Linked DNA regions of Homo sapiens: region 2 is linked to region 1. The links are contacts of gene promoters, found by promoter capture Hi-C in human tissues and cell types (Jung and others, 2019). All regions are on one chromosome and are shown on one strand. The core of a region is centred on a gene start or on the middle of the fragment in contact, and the rest is flanking DNA. Distances in the headings are between cores, read along the strand shown.

Region 1 (4,224 bases), core at 1,106-3,605:
TTAGTAGAGACGGGGTTTCACCGTGTTAGCCAGGATGGTCTCGATCTCCTGACCTCGTGATCTGCCCGCCTCGGCCTCCCAGAGTGCTGGGATTACAGGCATGGGCCACCGTGCCCAGCCAGAAGGGGACTTTTAACATTGCAGACAGGAACCCAGGGATTTTAGGAGAAAAGTACAACAGCTTCTCGTGGAAGGGTTTTGCTTTTTTGTTTTTGTTTTTTGAGACAGGGTCTCACTCTGTAGCCCAGGCTGGAGTTCAGTGGCACGATCTCAGCTCACTGCAGCCTTGAACTCCTGGGCTTAAACGATTCTCCTGCCTACCCTGCCAAGTAACTGAGATTATAGGTGCAACAGCACACCTAGCTGATTTTTTAATTTTTTGTAGAGACGAGGTCTTGCTATGTTGCCCAAGCTGGTCTGGAACTCCTGGGCTCAAGCGATCCTCCCACCTCAGCCTCCCAAAGTTCTGGGATTACAGGCATCAGCCACCATGCCTGGCCCTCACAGAGGCTCTTAAAGCCACACGGTCTAGCACCTGCCACCCTGGCCATCACACTCTCCGTCACTCCGCATGCTCCAGCCACACCAGCCTCCCCGAACTTCCTCAATTGCCCTATGGTTTTCCCATATCTGGGCCTTTGCTTGAGCGCTTAGCATGGCCAGGTGCACGCTCCTGCCCCTTTACCTTTTTTAACTCCAGCTTACTCGCCGGTGTCAGCACAAACGTTGCCTCTTCCTAGAAGCCTCCCCTGATGGCCCCCAACAAAGTGGGGTCCTCTTACCCATTCATATTCACTCTTGAGTGCCTGGAGACATTGCTGAGAATTGCATGCCCCAAGCCCGTCAATTCTGCAAACTCGCTCAGGAGATTCCAGCAGAGACGGGCTCCTTCCCAGCTGTGGCCACTAGGGGCGCTGCATATTAACATCTTCAAGGGGGATGCGGGTTTATCGCCCTGGACCAAAGATAGATCTGAACATGGGTCCCCCAGGGTCTCCCAGGGTCGGGTCCTGCCTCGGCCACCTCCTTGCTGGGTGGTGTGGGGAAGTAACAACCTATTAGAACTGCCATTTCCTCACATGTCAAGAGGAGCCTCAGGTGGTTGGCTGGTGTCCCAAAGACCAGCTCATAGGCTGACACGTACCTGGGCCAGGCTCTGCTGGGGGGACCCACGTTCCCATTTTACAATGAGAAAAGGGAGTAACTAAGTCATCCAGGAAGTAGCCAAACTGGAGGCTGTTAAATCTAGATGTGACATCCAAAGTCAGGGACCTTTCAGATGCACCTGCTTCCCAGTACCCTCCACTTCTGCACACAAACACGTGTGACTTCTGAGGGTCATCTAAAGAGGGAGGTTGGGCCAGGCGTGGTGGCTTATGCCTGTAATCCCAGCACTTTGGGAGGCCGAGTTGGGAGGATCACCTGAGGTCAGGAGTTCAAGGCCGGCCTGGCCAACATGGCGAAATTCCGTCTCTACTAAAAATACAAATATTAGCCAGGTGTGGCGGTGGGCACCTGTAATCCCAGCTACTCAGGAGGCTGAGGCAGGAGAATCGCTTGAACCCAGGAGGCGGAGATTAAAGTAAGCTGAGATTGCACCACTGCATTCTAGCCTGGGTGACAGAGCTAGACTCCGTCTCAAAATAATAACAATAATAATAATGAAGGAGGTTGCCCAGGGATGCCCAGAGCAGACACAGCTGAAGAAGGCACCCTTCCCTGTTGTTGTTGTTTTTTTGGTTTTTTTGTTTTTTCTGGTTTGTTTTTAGAGACAGGGTCTCACTCTTTCGCCCAGGCTGGAGTGCAGTGGCGCAATCAGGGCTCACTGAGGCCTCCACCTCCCAGGTTCAAGCAATCCTCCCACCTCAGCCCTCTGAGTAGCTGGGACTGCAGGCTCATGCCACCATGCCCAGCTAATTTTTTTTCTTTTCATTTTTTGTAGAGATGGGGTCATGCTATATAGCCCAGGCTGGTCTCAAACTCCTGGACTCAAGCGATCCTCCAACCTTGGCCCCCCAAAGTATTGGGATTACAGGCGTGAGCCACCTCCCCTGGGCCCCTTCCTTGGTTTTAAAAAGAGACCCGGGAAGCCCAAATGCTTCCTGAATCGCCCTGAAAAGAGGTGGTTCGTCCTGCAGCCAGCTGACCCAAATGTTCCTGCAGCAGCCCTGTCCCCAAGGAGTTGGGGAAGAGGCCTCTGAGGTCCAGTAGTGGCTGCCATCAAGTTCTGACCCCTCCCTTCAGGCTCAGAGCCCCAAACAGCCAGCTCCCCGCCCCCCTCCACACCCAGCTTCCCTCCCCCATGGCCTCGGCCCCTCCCGCCAAAGGAAGTGAGAAGGGGCTGTTGTAAGAGGAACTAAAGCCGGGAGTCCGGTGAACGGGCAGAAGCAGGGCCATGCCCAAGCCACCCCCAAGATCCCCCTGAACCTGCACCTCCATCACGACCCATTCAGGAGCCTCCAGGAGCCCAGACACCAGCCCCCCACCATGGTAAGTCCTTCAAGGGTGGGATCTGGAAGAAGAAAGAGGAGGGACACCAGCCAGGTGGAGGTGTCCTAAAAATGACCATCAGAAATTGGGGTGAGGGGAGGGGCATGGTGGACTTCTGTGGGGGTGGGGTGTCTCTCAGTGCAGCTCAGGTGCCTCCAGCATCCCTTACCAGGGAGCAAGCTCCCATCTGTAGGTGGTGGGGATGCCAGGGTGGTATCCCTGGATCCAAGGATAGGGCAGGACCTGGAAGACAGAAGGTGGCCCAGGGAGAATCACAGAGTCTGCAGGGACAAGGACATAGCCTCCTTTGCTTGCAAATTAAGGGAGCCCTTTCCCAGTCCAGCCCAGTCTCTCGTCTCCCTGTGTAGCCTTGGGCTAGTCACTTCCCCTCTCTTGGCCCCGGTTCCCACAGATGTCATATTTGGAAATCCGTCTAGATGCGGAAGTTGCTCTTCAGGGGTCTTTCAGTTGCAACATTCTCAAGGTCTGTGGGTTCTGCCACAGAGTCCTCGGCTGAGATGGGAAGCTATGTCTAACAAGCGATGGGGTGGATTGACGCCCTCCCTGTGCCGGTGACGGGCGGTATGGCTGCAGCAGAGGCAGGAGAGGCTGAATACGTCCATGCCACCCTTTGGTGGGCATCCCTTATCCCAAGAGGAGGATGGCAGCCAGAGGTGTTGCTGCCTGTCAAGTCTGAGGTCTGTCGATGATAGCAACGGGGAGACTGTCGTGATCATGGCGCTATTCCTAGCAGTATCGTACCACCATAAGACGCAAAGTAAGAGGTGGCCAGGGCTGACCCCACCCCACAGCTCTCTGCTGTGTAGACCACTTCAGCTTTCATTTCTCGTCATTCAGTCAGTGAGGATGAGAGCATGTGGCTGTGACAGCGGCCACTGCAGGATTCTTGGCAGGTACAGCTTACTAGGGTGGAGTCAGGGACATAGGGCAAGAGGCAGAGGTGGTGTTAGTCTGAGAGACAACACCTTCTTTCAGGAAGCCAGTGAGGGCCAGGGACAGTGGCTCATGCCTGTAATCCCAGCATTTTAGGAGGCTGAGACAGGTAGATCACTTGAGGTCAGGTGTTCGAGACCAGCCTGGCCAACGTGGTGAAACCTCGTCTCTACTAAAAAATACAAAAAATTAACTGGGCGTGGTGGCACACGCCTGTAATCCCAGCTACATATGAGGCTGAGGCAAGAGAATAACTTGAACCCAGGAGGCGGAGGGTGCAGTGAGCTGAGATCCTGCCGCTGCACTCCAGCCTGGGTGACAGAGCACACTCCGTCTCAAAAAAGGAAAGCTGATGAGAAATTGGGCATCCCGGAATTCACACCCAAACCATCAGCTGGAGCTCTGAGACTGTTGGGGTGGGAATTCTTCCAAGATGAGAAGCAAGCCAGGGAGGCTCAGGTCCTGGGATGGGCAGGGCTTTGATCAAAAGAACACAGGAAGTGATTTGCTACTTGAAAGAAAGGCAACCCCTCCCCAAGGAAGCCCTCTGAAAATGCTTAGTCAACAGTCGGCTTGGCAGACAAGGTCTGGGAGGGGCCACCCGTATCGCAGAGGATGATAGAAGAGAAAAAAATGACACCCACCTCTGTCTGGGGATGCTGAAATCTTCCTGGAGGAGTGGTGAATGCCAGGAAGATCGCTGAAGGATTCAATGAAACAGTATTTCTGAAGTCCTTTACAACAGGGTCCCCAACCCCCGGGGTCATGGACTGCTATCGG
Region 2 (4,433 bases), core at 245-2,744, 200 kb after region 1:
TTTTGAAATCAAGTCTTGCTCTGTCACCCAGGCTGGAGTGCAGTGGCATGATCTCTGCTCACCGCAACCTCCACCTCCCGAGTTCAAGTGATTCTCCTGCCTCAGCCTCCTGAGTAGCTGGGATTACAGGCACCCGCCACCACACCCGGCTAATTTTTGTATTTTTAGTAGAGACGGGGTTTCACCATGTTGGTCAGGCGGGCCTGGAACTCGTAATGTCAGATGATCCACCTGCCTCGGCCTCCTAAAGTGCTGGGATTACAGGCATGAGCGACCACGCCATCTTTTTTTTTTTTTTTTAACAAAACACAGATGTAGAATTAGAGCCTTCAGGGGTGGGTGCAGTGGCGCTCACACCTTTAATCCCATCACTTTGTGAAGCCAAGGCAGGAGGATCCCTTGAGTCTCGGTGTTTGAGACCAGCCTGGACAATAGAATGAGACCCTGCCTCTACGAAAAAAAAATTATTTTTGTTTTGAGATGGAGTCTTGCTCTGTTGCCCAGGCTGGAGTGCAGTGGCGCAATCTCGGCTTATTTGCAGCCTCTGCCTCCTTGGCTCAAGTGATTCTTCTGCGTCAGCCTCTAGAGTAGCTGGGACTACAGACGTGCACCACCATGCTCGGCTAATTTTTGTATTTTTTTGTAGAGATGGGGGTTCCACCATGTTGGCCCGGCTGGTCTCGAACTGCTGACCTCAAGTGACCTGCCTGTCTCGGCCTCACAAATGGCTGGGATTACAGGCACGAGACACCGTGCCTGGCCCTGGGAACATGTTTACATGGACTTTGTTCACTTTTTAAAACAAACTGAGGGTAACTTACTAGATCTGTGAACTAAAGAAAGAGAAAAAAAAGAAAGAAAACAAACAAGAACAAAGAACAAAGTGTTCTGAGGTTGCTTTTATTCCAAGAACTCTGTGAGCTCCGCCCAGATACCATTGGCGCCTGCTTGTGTCCCCAGGGGACCTACACACAACAGCACCAGCACCATGAGGGCGCTCTCGACCCACACAAGCCCTGGTCCCCGTCAGTCAATGTGACTGAGTCCGCCATTGAGGCCAGTCTGGCTGGCCCCAAGTGGTCCCTCTGAGTCCCCAACTCCCTGGCCAGCAAGGAGTGAAGCTCCATGCCCCTTGGTCCACGCCTCTAGAGTCTGAGCATATCCTGCAGCCTCGATCTCAGGAGGCAACGCATGCAGCCCCCCTGCACTCAGAAAGGGGGCTTCTCCAGTCGTGGTCTTCTTCTCTGTCCACAAGTTTCCAGATGGCCCCTCCTTGGAGCCCCTGCCCAGGCAGGGAACGGCCACATCCTCGGGCAGAGCCAAGAGTCACCGTCTTTCGTGGGCCTGGGACCAGGCCCAGCCAGGACGCTAGGAGGCTGCCTCTGCTGCCATGGGCTGGATCAACATGGTGGTGGCCTGCAGCGGGTAGTAGCGGCCCCGCCAGGTCTTCCAGAAGATTCCCTTCTTAAGCTTCTGCCGCTGCTGTGGGATGGAGCGGAAGTACTGGCCGTTGAGGTTGGAATGGCTGCAGGTGCCAAACCACCAGCCTCCTGCCGGGGTCAGGGGAGAGGGAACATGGTCAGGTCTTTGAGCCACCGATGGGGCTGAAAGGAGATAGGGATAGGGTTGAGGATGAGGCAGGTTGGGGACCAGGCTGGGCTTTGGACTTGACTTTTTTTTTTTTGAGATTGAGTCTTACTCTGTCACCCAGGCTGGAGTGCAGTGGTGCGATCTCAGCTCACTGCAACCTCCGTCTCTCAGGTTTAAGTGATTCTCCTCCCTCAGCCTCCCGAGTAGCTGGGATTACAGGCGCCTGCCACCACACCTGGCTAATTTTTGGTCTTTTTTTTTGAGACTGAGTCTCACTCTATCTCCCAGGCTGGAGTGCAGTGGCACAATCTCGGCTCACTGCACCTCTGCCTCCCAGGTTCAAGGGATTCTCATGCCTCAGCCTCCTGAGTAGCCGGGATTACAGGCACCCGCCACCACGCCTGGCTAGTTTTTGTATTTTTAGTAGTGAGGGGGTTTCACCATGTTGGCCAGGTTGGTCTCAAACTCCTTACCTCATGTGATCCACCCTCCTCAGCCTCCCAAAGTGCTGGGATTACAGGTATGACCCACTGCGCCTGGCCTAATTTTTGTATTTTTAGTAGAGACAGGGTTTCACCATGTTGGCCAGGCTAGTTTTGAACTCCTGACCTCAGGTGATCCACCCACCTCGGCCTCCCAAAGTGCTGGGATTACAGGTGTGAGCCCCCACACCCGGCCTTATTTTTAAGTTTAAAAACAATTTTTTTTGAGACAGGGCCTGGCTCCATTGCCCAGGCTGGAGTGCAGTGGTGTGGTGATGGCTCAATGCAGCGTCAACCTTACGGGCTCAAGTGATTCTTGTACCTGGGCCTCCCAAGTAGCTGGGACCACAGGTGTGAGCCACCATGCCTGCATTTTTTCTTTTTCTTTTGAGGCAGGGGTCTCACTCTGTCACCCAGGCTTGAGTGCAGTGGCGCAGTCTCAGCTCACTGCAGCCTTATCTCCTAGGCTCAAGAGATCCTCCCAACTCAGCCTCCCAAGTAGATGGGAACACAGGCAGGCACCACCATGCCCAGCTAGTTTTTTGTATTTTTAATTGAGACAGGATTTCGCCCTGTTGCTCAGATTGGTCTCCTGGGCTCAAGTGATCCACTCGCTTCAGCCTCCCAAAGTGCTGGGATTGCAAGTGTGAGCCACCGTGCCTAATTTTTTTTTTTTTTTGAGAATTGCTTGAACCCGGGAGGTGGAGGTTGCAGTGAGCCGAGATCGCACCACTGCACTCCAGCTTAGGCAACAGAGTGAGACCCTGTTTCAAAAAAAAAAAAAAAAAAAGAATCCTGTGGAGCACCATTATAAAGATGTTTGTGGCCGGGTATTGTGGCTCACGCCTGTAATCCCAACACTTTGGGAGGCCGAGGTGGGCAGATCACTTGAGGTCAGGAGTTCAAGACCACCCTGGCCAACATGGTGAAACCCCGTCTCTACTAAAAATACAAAACAATTATCTGTGCATGGTGGCGGGAACCTGTAATCCCAGCTACTCAGGAGGCTGAGGCAGGAGAATCACTTGAACCCAGGAGGCGGAGGCTGCAGTGAGCCAAGATCACGTCACTTGCACTCCAGCCTGGGAGACACAGCGGGACTCTGTCTCAAAAAATAAATAAGTAGGCCGGGCGCGGTGGCTCACGCCTGTAATCCCAGCACTTTGGGAGGCTGAGGCAGGCAGATCACGAGGTCAGGAGATCGAGACCATCCTGGCTAACACGGTGAAACCCCATCTCTACTAAAAATACAAAAAAATTAGCCAGGCGTGGTGGTGGGCACCTATAGTCCCAGCTACTCGGGAGGCTGAGGCAGGAGAATGGTGTGAACTCAGGAGGTGGAGCTTGCAGTGAGCCAAGATCGTGCCACAAAGCACTCCAGCCTGGGTGACAAAGTGAGACTCCGTCTCAAAAAATAAATACATAAATAAATAAATAAACAAACACATAAGTAAATAAAAGTAAAGACGGTCAAGACCCTTTTCAGGATGGGAAAACTGAGGCCAGATAGGCTAAGTTAGTGGCCCAATCACACACACGGCATGTAAGGAAGAGGTGGGGGCAGGAAACAGATGCAATGTGGGGTTGAAGGCAGGACAGAGCAGCAGAAAGATAAGGAGGGAAGCTGCTGGCTGGGTGTGGCATGGCAGGGCCTGCTCACCAGAGAGGCTCTTGGCGCAGTTCTTGTCCCTGCGGAGGTCGTGATCCTGGTCCCAAGTGGAGAAGGGTACGGAGAGGCCGCTGGGTGGGACGGTGGTGGCGCCCAGCTGGCCGGCCACGGGTGCAGTGAGCTGCAGGCTATAGGCCGTGTCCTCGCCACCCAGGTGCACGGAGAACTGCAGCAACTCGGCGTTGCCATCCCAGTCCCGCAGCTGCACGGCCAGGCGGCTGTTGCGGTCCCCCGTGATGCTATGCACCTTCTCCAGACCCAGCCAGAACTCGCCTGGAGTGGGAGAGGCCACTCCATGAGGCAGGGCCACTTCTGAGGGTCCCTCTTCCTCCCCTGCCTCTGTCCCCACTAGAAACACCTACCGTGGGGATCCCCAAACCCCGCCTTGTAGGCTTCCCAGGGCCGGTTGAAGTCCACTGAGCCATCGTGGCGCCTCTGAATTACTGTCCAGCCTCCATCTGCCCAGAAAGGTACAAGGTCACCAGGAAGTCCCTCTTCACAGACGACCCCACTCCCTCATCTGGCTGCCAAGCACCAAACCCCCTCCAAACCCAGGAAGACAGCAGCTCCCTCACTCATCCCTGGAGGACTCGAGGAGGGTGGGTCAGAGGGAGGAATATTATGGGCTGGCCTTGGGAAGATCTTTGTCCCAAGAACCCAGCAGGGACTGAGTGTGGGAGGGAGTAGGCAGT

The links. Contacts are between HindIII fragments. The study calls those that stand out against the background at their distance.
Region 2: a fragment that was not itself captured here is called in contact with the fragment with the promoter of MYO1F in region 1 in 1 of the 25 tissues and cell types used here (spleen).

What each region holds. Positions count from the first base shown.
Region 1 is chr19:8,575,573-8,579,796 of GRCh38, reverse strand. MYO1F (myosin IF) reads left to right here and starts at 2,355. Exons shown (of 28, transcript NM_012335.4): 1 at 2,355-2,490. The coding sequence starts at 2,488. RefSeq lists silencers at 829-1,023, 2,244-2,393, 2,931-2,980 and enhancers at 3,101-3,280, 3,451-3,510, 3,851-3,910. The HindIII fragment of the contact is 34,715 bases long and covers 1-4,224 here.
Region 2 is chr19:8,370,822-8,375,254 of GRCh38, reverse strand. ANGPTL4 (angiopoietin like 4) reads right to left here. Exons shown (of 7, transcript NM_139314.3): 5 at 4,104-4,199; 6 at 3,733-4,014; 7 at 885-1,550. The coding sequence ends at 1,369. It overlaps RAB11B-AS1 (RAB11B antisense RNA 1), which reads left to right. Exons shown (of 3, transcript NR_038237.1): 3 at 647-879. Among named protein-coding and RNA genes, the nearest start is that of ANGPTL4, 8.9 kb to the right of the region's middle. The HindIII fragment of the contact is 3,011 bases long and covers 1-2,999 here.